Linked DNA regions of Homo sapiens: regions 2, 3 and 4 are each linked to region 1. The links are contacts of gene promoters, found by promoter capture Hi-C in human tissues and cell types (Jung and others, 2019). All regions are on one chromosome and are shown on one strand. Each heading gives the region's core, a stretch centred on a gene start or on the middle of the fragment in contact. The rest is flanking DNA. Distances are from core to core; before and after follow the strand shown.

Region 1 (3,214 bases), core at 698-3,197:
TTGTGGCTCAGTTGAAGGCGAAAAGGGCTCCAAACCACTAACTAACCAGAGGAGAGCCCCTTCTTCCACCTCCAGGGAGAATTTCAGATTTAATTTGTCCGAAGATAGCGTGCTCTCTTCTTACTCATTTGCCATCATTACGAGGAAAACAAACCACCACCTTGGCTTCAAGATCCTGGGTAGAGGCTCACGGTCTTTTCAACCATCTTTGGCGAGGCCTTGCTTCCTTCCACTCGAGTAAGTCGCGGCTTGGGGCCACGGAAAGGACTGGGTGAGAGCCCGCAATGTCGTTGGAAAAAAGCAGCCCTCCCTGCGCCCCCTCACCAGCCCCACCACCCCGCTCCACTCCCGGGGCGAAGCCGCGAGCCAGCGGCCCCGTATGGGCGAGACTTGGCAGGTCCGCGGGGCGCCTTCTCGCCGCCGCCGGACTCGGGGCTCCGCAGCGGCCGGGCGTCGGCGCCCGCCGGCCGCGGGGCTTCGCGCTGCCGCCGCCCGGTCCCGGAGCTCCCTTCCCCCACCGGCCGCCCCCTCCCCCTCGCCCGCGCTCCCTTTTGTTCGCTCGCCGCCCGGGCCGAGCCGCCGCCGCCGCCGCCGCCCGGCCCGGCGGCGAGGCCGCTCCACCGCACACGCACACACAGACCCCGGCAGCGGGAACGCAGATGACACGCCCGTAACATGGAAGCCGCCGCCGCCGCCGCTCCGACGACAGCAGCAGCAGCCACAGCAGCAGCCGCCGGCGGCGCCGCGCTGAACAAAGGTCATCCGAGCTGCGGCCCAGACGCCCGGGCTTGACCGCCGCGAAGGCCAACCCCGGGAAGGGGGTGGGTGTGCGCCTCTGGGGGTGCGGGGCGGCGGGAGGCGGCCGGGGCGAACGAGGGGCGCAGGGCAGCCGGACCCAGGGGCGCGGGTGGGCGCCGGGCAGAGGCGGGGTGCGGCCCCTCGTGCCCACTCCTGCGGGCCGGGGTGAGCGCGTGAGGCTCAGGCCCCTGGGCCTGCCCGCAGTGGCCTGTCCCACCCTGGCCTTGGGGACAGCCGGCCTTCGCGCCCCGCCAGCTGGCTTGGGGGGCCGAGGAGGAACCGCCCGGGCTAGGCCCCGCAGGTTACGAGACGGGGGCCACGTGAGCGCGGCTCTCCTACTCCCCCCGCCGGCGCCGGCCGGGCACAGATGCGTTTCCAGAGGCCTCCGTGCCCCCTCTCCCACTGGCCCTGCCTTCGCCCCCCGCCCCCTCCCCAGACAGCCCCAGTTTTCTTCCCCCGAGGTGAAGGGATTTGGACTTCTCCCCCCAGGTGCTTGAAAGAAGAGAAGGTTGGAGGAGGAGGAGGAGACTGGGGGGCTGCTGGTGGTGGTGACAGGGCTGGGAGAGAGAGGAGAGGGACGGAAGGGAGGAGGGGGCTGGGTGGGGTGGGGGTGACAGCAGAGAGGAGCCTGGTCAACAAGCCAGCACCACTGTGCTAGGAGGCCAGGCCGGCTCTGCAGCCGACGCATCCCGTGTGAGCAGACACACATAGCTCGCTTTCTTGGGGGCTCTTTGTCAGCCACCAACACAGAGAGCACACACTGACACACACGTACACAAAGATCTGAGCCAGGTTGTGGGAGGTAAGTGGGGGAAGGAGAAGGAGGGGGAAACAGTGTCTGCGGTGGGCTGTGGGGTGGAGGGGAGGGGGGATGGGCCCTGAGGGGCTCTGGGGTGCTTGCGAGGTGAGCATTTCCAAGGCTGTGTGCTCGTGGGGTGGGGGGACACACGATGACCTTCTCCTCCTCAGGAAGACCTAAGAGGGAAGAGCAAACCCCAGCGAGATCCCCCCTGTGCTGATGATTTTCAGGGACTTGTTGGCAACTCAGCGAGGGTTGCCATAGCTTTTTTATGTAGGGTGACCAGAACCGGCTGAAACTGGTTTGAGGCAGATCAGCTCCTGAACACAATGCAGTCACTGAGCTACTACAGTAGGATAGCAGCTTCCTCCCTTCATGGCAGCCAAAAGCAGAGGAGCTTGCAGGAAGGTACCATCCCTACACAGTATGTGAATGCACACTTAGACACCACACAGCACTGGTACGTGACTAATGGAGCCCTAAAAGATTCTGGGTAGAGAAGATGGAAAAAAAGGTGCAGGTTTGCAGGGTCTGAGATTACTTGGGCTTTTCCTGCCTTTTTCTTTTGCTTAAGGGATGGACAAGGAGCTGAGATTTATGACCCTTATTAGAGAAAAAAATGTGCCTTGCTAGGGTGGGGACACTTGGTTGATGCAGTCTCTCTCTCTCTTTCTCGGTGTTTATAACAAAACAAAACCAAAATGAACTGAGGGGTTTGTAATGGTAGTTTGTTTGTTGCTGGAGAATGCTACTTTGCATGCTTTTTTTCTCTTGCAGGGTATGTTCTGTCTTGTGCTTTTTCTTTTAGAAGCTACTAAAGGGTGTTGGGGATGCTTCTGACTATTATGAAGGCCAAAAGGTAACAATATCGTTCTAGGAAATGAACATAAATGCATTCCAGTGATGCTGTTAGCCATACATGCTGTCTTTTTTTTCCTTGTAGGCCTGTTGACTGGGGCTGCTTTTAACCCTTTCCTATTTGCTGAGAATGCAGCCGTGTGACAGTAACTGAACATTGGTCTAAAGTCTTTCCAAAAGGTCAAGGTTCACAAGGTGAGATACGCTGTTTTGAGCATGAATTTAAATATTTATTTGCAGATCCATTTAGACACAGACGGACCGTGGATTGCTACCCAGGAGATAAAATTGGGTTCAGAGTGGAGAAGAAATGCTCTTAATGTTATCCCAGTTTAATGGGATTAGAGTGACTTTATGATGGTATTGCGATCAAGGCGAAATCTGAATGCCTTCATTAAATCGCATGTGTCTGGGCAATTGGGAGAGTCAGGCCTGGAAGGAAGCGAGTGTGGAGAATGGTAGGCGTCAGGGCCTTGTGGAGAATGTGCTGTTTTGCATAAGACGAAAGCAGTACACATGTGGCATTTTCCCGATGATTATAAGAAAAGGAAGGGCTTCACCAAATCGAGGCAGCCTAGCCACCTTTTTAGGATTTGAGGAGTCTGAAGGTAGATTTGCCTTTTGTTCATTCATCACCTTTCTTTTACCTTGCTCTCTTGTGTTAACCTGAAAGGTTTTTCACTCCGACTCAAGTGGTGGAATGTCTTTTATTGATTTTGGGGGCTGTTGACGGTGAGTTCGCCATTGGATTCTTTGTGG
Region 2 (3,012 bases), core at 34-2,533, 65 kb before region 1:
GTACTTTCCAAAGTCTTTTTTTTTTTTTTTGAGACAGGATCTCACTCTGTCACCCAGCCTGAAGTGCAGTGGCACATCACAGCTCACTGCAGCCTCGACCTCTCAGGCTCAAGCGATCCTCCCACCTCAGCCTCCCTAGTAGCAGGGACTATAGGAGGATGCCACCACTGCCAGCTAATTTTTTTTATTTTTGTAGAGACAAGGTTATGCCATGTTGCCCAGGCTGGTCTCGAACTCCTGGACTCAAGTGATCCCCCTTGCCTCAGCTTCCTAAAGTGCTGGGATTACGGGTGGGAGCCACTGCACCTGGCCTTCAAAGTCTTACTGTTTTGTTTCCACTACAAATAAACCCTCTTCAGACGTATGTTAGCATTTTGGGTGGCTTCACTCAGAAGGACTCTGCATTTTTCTCTGTGTGTTCACTCCTTTTACATGAGAAGCCCAAGATTTAATGGGCACCTTAGGAGGATAAGCCAGACATTGTGCAGGACAAACACTTCACACATCTCATCTACAGGACATAATCTCTACTGCCCATAATCTCTACTGCCCTTCAGTCAGCAAATATTAATTACAGAAGGGTAATAATGTTAGCAACCCAAATATGAAAACGGGCTGGGTGCAGTGGCTCACATCTGTAATCCCAGCACTTTGGGAGGGCAAGGCTGGTGGATCACTTGAGGTCAGGAGCTCGAGACCAGCCTGGCCAACATGGTGAAATACTGTCTCTACTAAAAATACAAAAATTAGCCAGTCATGGTGGTGGGCGCCTGTAGTCCCAGCTACTCAGGAGGCTGAGGCAGGAGAATCGTTTGAGCCTGGGAGGCGGAAGTTTCAGTGACCCAAGATCGCACCACTGCACTCCAGCCTGGACGAAAAAGCAAGACTCCATCTACAAAAAACAAACATGTAAATGAACAAAGCAACAGAGGAGCTCTCCGTCAACTCGCGGGGTTTAACAGAGAGCCTCACAGATGATTGCAGTCCACTAAGCCAACCAAGGGTTGGTGGGAGCATGAGGGATCTCATCATTGAAAAGAATCATTGAAAGCTTAATAGAGCTAGAGTTTATGTTGAGACTTGAAGAATAGGTAGAAATTTGCCTAGTAAATAAGGAGATGTCAGGTCGGGTGTGGTGGCTCATGCCTATAATCCCAGCACTTTGGGAGGCTGAGGCAGGCAGATTACCTGAGGTCAGGTGTTCGAGACCAGCCTAGCCAACATGATGAAACCTCGTCTCTACTAAAAATACAAAAATTAGGCCGGGCATGGTGGCTCATGCCTGTAATCCCAGCACTTTGGGAGGCCGAGGCGGGTGGATCACAAGGTCAGAAGTTCAAGACCAGCCTGGCCAACATGGTGAAACCCTGTCTTTACTAAAAATACAAAAATTAGCTAGGCCTGGTGGCACACACCTATAATCCCAGCTACTGGGGAGGCTGAGGCAGGAGAACTGCTTGAACCAGGACCCGGGAGGTGGAGGTTGCAGTGAGCCGAGATTGCACCACTGCACTCCAGCCTGGGAGACAGAGCGAGACTCCGTCTAAAAAAAAAAAAAAAGCCAGGTGTGGTGGCGCATGCCTGTAATCCCAGCTACTCGGGAGGCTGACGCAGAAGAATCATTTGAACCCAGGAAGCAGAGGTTACAGTGAGCTGAGATCACACCATTGCACTCCAGCCTGGGCAAGAAGAGCAAAACTCAGTCTCAAAAAAATAAAAATAAAAAAAAGAAAGAGGAAGAGAGAGCACAGGGTATTTAGGAGGCAGAAACAGTCCAGAGTGGCTGCAACAATTGATAGGTAGGGGAGATTCTGAATGTGAAACTAGACAGACGTTCAGGAACAGGTCATGGCAGGCCAAGAGGAGGAAGCGTCTCTGCAGACAAACATAAAGTCATGAAGTAAGGCTGAAGCAAGGGCTGAGCATACGTCCTGCACAAAGGGTCACACAGGATACCTGCCAAGGAGGGAAAGGCACCTTCAAGAACACAGTCATACCCTGTAATTGAATCAACACCAGGCCCATCTCAACTTCGCACCCACACCCAAACCCAAGATAGGTTCCACGGTACTCAGGGTAGATATGCAGGTGAATGGAAGCTAAGAAATTGATTTGTACAGTTGTAAACATTTTCTGTCACTGGATTATTTCTTTGTGATCTGAGGTCTCCAATCTTTTTTTTTTTTTTTTTTGAGAGGGAGTCTTGCTCTGTCACCCAGGCTGGAGTGCAGTGGTGTGATCTCGGCTCACTGCAAGCTCCGCCTCCCGGGTTCACGCCATTCTCCTGCCTCAGCCTCCTGAGTAGCTGGGACTACAGGCACCCACCACCACGCCCGGCCAATTTTTTGTATTTTAGTAGAGACGGGGTTTCACCGTGTTAGCCAGGATGGTGAGGTCTCCAATCTTTTGCTATGATATTTTAGGTTGGGAAAGAAGAGGGAACATGTTCTGTGAACCTAAAGGAGAGACATTGTCCTAACAAAGCAAACTGGTAAATGTAGCAACATTAGGCTGGGCAAAGTGGCTCACACCTGTAATCCTAACACTTTAGGAGGCCAAGGCAGGAAGATCGCTTAAAACCAGGAGCTAAAGACCAGCCTGGGCATGTAGCATGACCCTGTCTCTATAATTTTTTTTTTCTTTAATTAACTGGGTGTGGTGGTGCACGCCTGTAGTCCCAGCTACTCGGGAGACTGAGGTAGGATTGTTGCTTGAGCCCGGGAGGGCAAGGCTGCAGTGAGCTGTGATCATACCACTGCACTCCAGCCTGGGTGACAGGAAAAAAAAAAAAAATTAAGGGGAATGGATGTTTTTGCCATCCATTTATCAAGGTCTTTGGGATGCTAATTGGCAGGATGCAGACGGCCCCCTTCTGAGCAGTGTTTCTGGGGACCTCTCAGGCCATAGTTCAGTGAGCAGTGCTTCTTTGCTTCTTTTCCCTCTGCCCATCTGCCATTGCCCAACCTCCCTGCCACCCCTCCCCACCTCTCACCCTTCAGAGAGCGGAAAAGT
Region 3 (3,112 bases), core at 237-2,736, 73 kb after region 1:
AGTTTAGTTCATGTTGACTGCTCCTTTAGAAGAGAGGAGCAATTTTAAACGTAATTCTTTTCCTCTGCTGCTTCATATGAGGGTCCAGGTTCATGTTTAAGTGGGGCTTAGTAGCCCCGTGGCCTTGTCATGTTTTTTGCTCCCTTTGGCTCTATAGTTACTCATTTTCAATGTGTCTTTTCTTTAGCCAGATGAGTCTAATGTAGCAGCATGGTTCCCACGCCTTACTTTGTCTCGTCTTGGTGCAGTGTGCCTTGCTGTCTCTCCTCTTGCTCATATTACATCTCCCAAATACTGATGGGTCATCCCTGGCTCCTGGTTAACTTGGTAAAAGTTATATATTGATAAAAGTCAAATATTTTTTCTGAATTTTCCTGCCTCTTGATACACTGGACTGTATATCTAGAAAGGGGAATGGTTATAGGATTTTATACTGTAAATATTTTTTTTAATTCAAAAAATAAAGAAACTTTATTGCTATCCAGAATAGGACTTCAGGATATTACGTATTTCTTAGTAGACAGGATTTTTCATAGCATTAAGATACTGCATGAGCCGTTTGAAGTCTGCCTTTCTTTGTCTTATTTACATCCCCCATTGGCCTCTGTTGCCCCCTGAAATGCCTCTTCTTCCTGTAAGCAGATGTTTTATGACTTTTTAAAATACCCTGCTTTCGTTTCTTACATTAAGGAGGGTTTCCCTTGGTCTCCATGGTGTTCTCTGGATTGAGTCATAGCCACTTCCTCTTGCTTCAAAAAATTCCATCTTTATTTTAGATACTTCCTTTTTATTTGCTGTACATTAAACCTTCCTCTCACTCCAAGTGACTTTAGGTAATTATTGCTTTTCTCTGTATTCCTTTTTGTCCTTCCTGGTTCTTTTGCTCTTTAAACACCATCTTTCTATCCTTCATGGGAAAATCTTCTGTTTATAGTTTATGGTGTGGTAGGTCCTTCAGTTTCATTAATTACCCATCTACTTTTGTTTTACATAATCTTCCTCTTTCATGGGAGTTGTAGGCTTCTAGGTTTGGGAAGAGCTAAAAATGATCTATTTTAATTCTTCTCATTTTACAAATGAGTAACTGGCCCAGAGAGGAGCATTAACCTGTTCAAGACAACTCAGTAAGTTAACCCAAAATAGTTTCAATATGCTTAGGTGGCTCTATTGCCTGAAATACCAGTTCAAGTAGATAGGCTAGAGAGGCTGTCCTTTTATTCTCTATTGTTATTTAGTGTTTAAACATAGCTGTTGCTGAACATAATGCCTTCAGTCACTGGAAATGCTAATGCGTTAGTTATGATTTTAACAGAATGCTTGCAAAGCTTAAATAGAATGCATACAATCCAGAACATGCCACTCCTGTGTAACTTCGGAAGCATCTCCATGATTCAGAAGGGAGGTTCTAAGAATAGAAGCATCTTAGATTGTCATAGAAGTCTTTGGACACTGCCCCCCGGAAACCAGGCCCTGTCTGCAGTCTTCCTTCCCTGGGTAGCTCACATCTGGGAGCACATATGTTCAGTTGTATTAGAGGTAAATTTCTGGAGACTTTTGTACCTGCAGAGAGACCACTCTTAAATAGTTTTCAGGTGTGAACAAGGAAGACTTGGTCATCAAGTGGAGGTGTAAGTGTTGCTTAGAGTCTTTGTGTGAAAAAGATGAGATAGAGGAGAAATGTATCTTAGATTTAAAGTTTGTCTTTGTTGGATTATATTTGAGCAGGGAATGAGCTAATTGTGAGATTACTAGAAATTCATAAAGTAAGGAGGTTAGCTAGACAATTTTTTTTAGAGATGCTGAATTTTCAGAGGTTTGTAATTCATGCAATTTCTTAAACAAATGCAAGTGTACTTAAATTTATTTTCTAGGAGACAAAACACCTAGGTGGTTGACCTTCTCTATCCTGTGGACCACCATGAACCCCACATACATTGACCACATCAGTGTGTACCAGGAAACAGTGGGCCGAGGCCTTGGAGCCAGAACTTCTTTGTTCCTCTCTGCCCCTCTGTTCTTGGCATGCAGGTTTAGACACTGAAGATTTCTTCCATTAGAAATGCTATTTGGGTCCTGGAGATGGGTAGGAAACTCAGGGCCCTGGTGCCAGAATCCAGCATATGTAACCTCTCCAAAAACAGTGGTCTGGAGATTTGACATCCATTCTTAAAAATGTTAAAGATGCTCCAAAAATAGACCATTTGAGTTTTATTTTTCTTCTTCATGATCTTTTCTCTTAAACATATAAAAATAGGCTGGGCATGGTGGTTTACACCTATAATCCCAGCATTTTGGGAAGCTGAGGTGGGCGAATCACTTGAGGCTAGGAGTTTGAGACCAGCTTGGCCAACATGGCGAAACCCCATCTCTACTAAAAATACAAAAAGTAATTGGGCATGGTGGTACACACCTGTAATCCCAGCTACTTGGGAGGCTGAGGCACGAGAATTGCTTGAACCTGGGAGGTGGAGGTTGCAATGAGCCGGGATCACACCACTGCACTCCAGCCTGGGCGACAGAGCGAGACGTTGTCTCAAAAAAAAAAAAAAAAAAAAAAAAAAAAACCCATAAACAATTAAGTTGATTTATAATAGGAAAAAAACTAAAATATACTTCCGAAGGGCCATTAAAAACCTAAAAGGGCTATGAAAGTGTGTTCATCTCACCCAGTTTTTGCAGTTACACGTGTGTTATGGTCTTGTGCTAATGACCGTGTGTTTATTTTTCTAACAGATGTGTGCATTGCAATGTTGTGTACTCTGATGTGGCTGCTCTGAAGTCTCACATTCAAGGTTCTCACTGTGAAGTCTTCTACAAGTGTCCTATTTGTCCAATGGCGTTTAAGTCTGCCCCAAGCACACATTCCCACGCCTACACACAGCATCCTGGCATCAAGATAGGAGAACCAAAGTAAGTCATACCGACTTTCAAGTTTTACTCCACTGCTTTATTAGCAATTTAGAAGCAAGGTAGTAGTCGTTCTATTGAATAACATTTACCAAGATCTGAAAAATTATGCAGCTATGCCAATTTTGATGCTTTATGAAATACAGCTCATAGCTCATCCAAATCTTTCTGTTCTTTCCAGGTAAAGACCTTGTCCAAAAACGTT
Region 4 (3,070 bases), core at 546-3,045, 95 kb after region 1:
TGGCTCATGCCTGTAATCCCAGCACTTTGGGAGGCCAATGCAGGTGGATCACTTGAGGTCAGGAGTTCGAGACCCCCCCTGGCCAACATGACGAAACCCCATCTCTACTAAAAGTACAAAAATGAGCTGGGCATAGTGGCAGGTGCCTTGTAATCCCAGCTATTTGGGAGGCTGAGGCACGAGAATTGCTTAAATCCAGGAGGCGGAGGTTGCAGTGAGCCAAGATTGTGCCACTGCATTCCAGCCTAGGCAACAGAGCAAGACAATGTGTCAAAAAAAAAAAAAAAAAATACAAAAACCTAATTCTGGCTCTGCTAGTTATTCAGTAGCTTTTCTGTGTCTCTGATGCTCTTTTTAAAAAATGAATTGTCAGTATCTACTTTCAGTGGTTTTTAACTTTTTTCCAGTTATTTGTCGTAATCTGATATCAAGTCAAATACTTTAAAAAAATATTGACAGATATTCAGTGCATATTTATTAAAGGCGTAATCATCTTAAAACCTACAATTTGCTGAATTACTGCTTTAGCTATTTAAAAAAGAAAAACAGTTAAAGCAGCAGCATTTTAAGAAGTTCTTGTTACAAATTCTATATACAGAAAGCAGTAAAAAACTTACCAATTTCTCTTTTTAAAGTTTTTTCTCAAATGCTTATGTATTATCTAATTTTTATTGTGCTTTCTAAAGTTGGTATTATTGTTTTGTTATGGCCAAATTTTAGCTGTCCTTGTAAATGGTAAAGTCTTTGAGGGCAAGTTGTATGTCCATTTTATTATTACAGTCTTCTATGGTTTACAGCATTGTGCCTTGCAGAGTATCTCTGGAGTCCCTGATTGAAGCAGTTCTCTTTGGATTGTTACTTGCACATATGGGAAGGGGCTTTGTGTTAGTCACAGATACACACAAGTTGCAGTCTAGGTTCAGGTACCTAACTAGCTTTCTAACCACAGAAATCCCACCACCTTTGTAGTCTCTATATTCTCAACTATAAAATCAGGAGGACGGGCGTGTCAGTGTCACATTAACCTGATGATCTCATCCCAGCCGTGAGCCTTTCCTCAGATCCATGTACAAATGCACAGAGTTTTACATACAATTTTAGGTGGGTTGTGGATCTCCTGCTCTTCTTTTTTGTTGTTCTAGAAGGCCTTTTAGGAACCAAACTAAGATCCTTTGAATGAGATAATATCTGAGGTCATTCTTAGAGATCAAACATTCTGTAATTATGTGAGCCAGTATTAAAATTAAAAAGAAGTTACATGTTATATGTACCTGTTCAAATCTAGAAAATTACAACACAATCTGTGATAATTGTAATCATTCTCTCATTTGCTGCCTGGTTCTCCTACACATCAAGGAACCTTAACTTATTAATTGAAATATCCTAAAGCAGAGGCATATGTGCTGAATTACGGAACTCTGGTGCCATCAAAATGAACCTTAGATCTTTTCAGTTTTTTGTTTTTTGTTTTTTTTTGTTTTTTTTTGGTTTTTTTTTTTGACAAGGTCTCACTCTGTTGCCCAAGCTAAAGTGCAGTAGGGTAATCTTGGCTCACTGCAACCTCCGCCTCCCAGGCTTAAGCAGTCCTCCCGAGTAGCTAGGACTACAGGTGTGTACCACCACACCCAGCTAATTTTTGTGTTTTTATAGAGACGGTGTTTCACTGTGTCACCCAGTTGAACTCCTGGGCTCAAGTGACCTGTCTACCTCGGCCTCCCAAAGTGCTGGGATTATAGGCATGAGCCAGTGCACTCGGCCTCAAGATTCTTCATGATGTAGATAGATGTGGTCCAGTACTGTGTCTGTAACTTGGGAAGAGCCTGGGAGACTTGGGTATATATTCTGGCACCACAACTACCAGTGTGACTTTGTGAAAAAATAATTAACAACCACCATCTTCCAGCGTCAGCTTCAGTTTGCATAGGTCTAAAATGGAAATATTTACCACCTAAGAGTCTTTTTAAATTAAATAAAATGAAAGCATGTAGCACAATACATAATAGATGTTTTTCTCTCTATACTGTATTTCCTCTCTGAACACTATAGATTTTTTTAAAATTAAATTTTGCTAGAAAGCAGCTCACCAAAATGGAAGGTTCTGCATACAGAGACGTTATACATTTACCACTTCTAAGTAGATTTTTCTTCTTTTTTTATTTTTTTGAGATAGGGTCTCACTCTGTCACCCAAACTGGAGTGCAGTGGCACGATCTTGGCTCACTGCAACCTCCACCTCCCAGGTTCAAGCGATTCTCCTGCCTCAGCCTCCTAAGTAGCTGGGATTACAGGTGCGTGCCACCACGCCCAGCTAATTTTTGTATCTTTAGTAGAGACAGGGTTTCACCCTGTTGCCCAGGCTGGTCTTGAACTCCTGACCTCAAGTGGGATTACAGGCATGAGCCACTGCGCCTGGCCTGCTTGACTAATTTAAAAAAATTTTTTGGTAGAGATGCCTTCTGATGCCCAGGCTGGTCTTGAATTCCTGAGCTCAAGTGATCGTCTCATCTTGGCCTTCCAAAGTGTCGGGATTACAGGTGTGAGCCATTGTACTGGGCCAATTTTCCATCTTTACATGGGGTGAAAGGAGATTGCAAATATATGCATGTCATGGAGAATGAGCTGTGGCCAGATACCCTGCTTGTGTGAAAGGAGAAGGTTGGATAGATTCGGAAGATTTCAGATAAAGTCTATCTGACCTTACTTGAGCACAGCCATTTCAGAGAACAGATGGTGAAGTAGCTGGTTCCTGCCTGAGCACTGGGCAAAAGAACTAGGCGAAGACTAAGAACATGTGATTGCAGATCAATCTCCTTTTCTTTACAGAGGGACCAGTTGGTAGGTAGAATAACCCTCTAGACAGAAACTGGGTTTCAGCAAAACTGTTGACAGATTCTGTCTGTTTTGATACTGTTCTGTACAGTGTAGTGCAGGAGGGCCTGGGTGAAATATTGCATGGATAGCTGACTCATGGCTCACTGCCTTGTTGGAGAGAAAGCTTCCATCTTGGATCAGATTTTCCTCAGTCTTTCTATCAATGACTTAATTATAGGAAGAGAAGCTAGGAGGGATT

What was found. Contacts are between HindIII fragments. The study calls those that stand out against the background at their distance.
Region 2: a contact is called between a fragment that was not itself captured here and the fragment with the promoter of ZNF532 in region 1, in 5 of the 25 tissues and cell types used here (H1 embryonic stem cells, IMR-90 fibroblasts, liver and 2 more).
Region 3: a fragment that was not itself captured here is called in contact with the fragment with the promoter of ZNF532 in region 1 in 2 of the 25 tissues and cell types used here (IMR-90 fibroblasts and thymus).
Region 4: a fragment that was not itself captured here is called in contact with the fragment with the promoter of ZNF532 in region 1 in 2 of the 25 tissues and cell types used here (dorsolateral prefrontal cortex and lymphoblastoid cells).

Annotation. Positions count from the first base shown.
Region 1 is chr18:58,862,930-58,866,143 of GRCh38, forward strand. It overlaps ZNF532 (zinc finger protein 532), which reads left to right and starts at 1,948. Exons shown (of 10, transcript NM_001375912.1): 1 at 1,948-2,456; 2 at 2,541-2,650. The HindIII fragment of the contact is 28,079 bases long and covers 1-3,214 here.
Region 2 is chr18:58,798,940-58,801,951 of GRCh38, forward strand. No RefSeq gene overlaps it. Among named protein-coding and RNA genes, the nearest start is that of LINC01926, 13 kb to the right of the region's middle. The HindIII fragment of the contact is 7,341 bases long and covers 1-3,012 here.
Region 3 is chr18:58,936,712-58,939,823 of GRCh38, forward strand. It overlaps ZNF532 (zinc finger protein 532), which reads left to right. Exons shown (of 10, transcript NM_001375912.1): 5 at 2,734-2,910. Among named protein-coding and RNA genes, the nearest start is that of ZNF532, 73 kb to the left of the region's middle. The HindIII fragment of the contact is 4,327 bases long and covers 1-3,112 here.
Region 4 is chr18:58,957,794-58,960,863 of GRCh38, forward strand. All of the region lies in intron 7 of ZNF532 (zinc finger protein 532), which reads left to right. Among named protein-coding and RNA genes, the nearest start is that of ZNF532, 94 kb to the left of the region's middle. The HindIII fragment of the contact is 4,530 bases long and covers 1-3,070 here.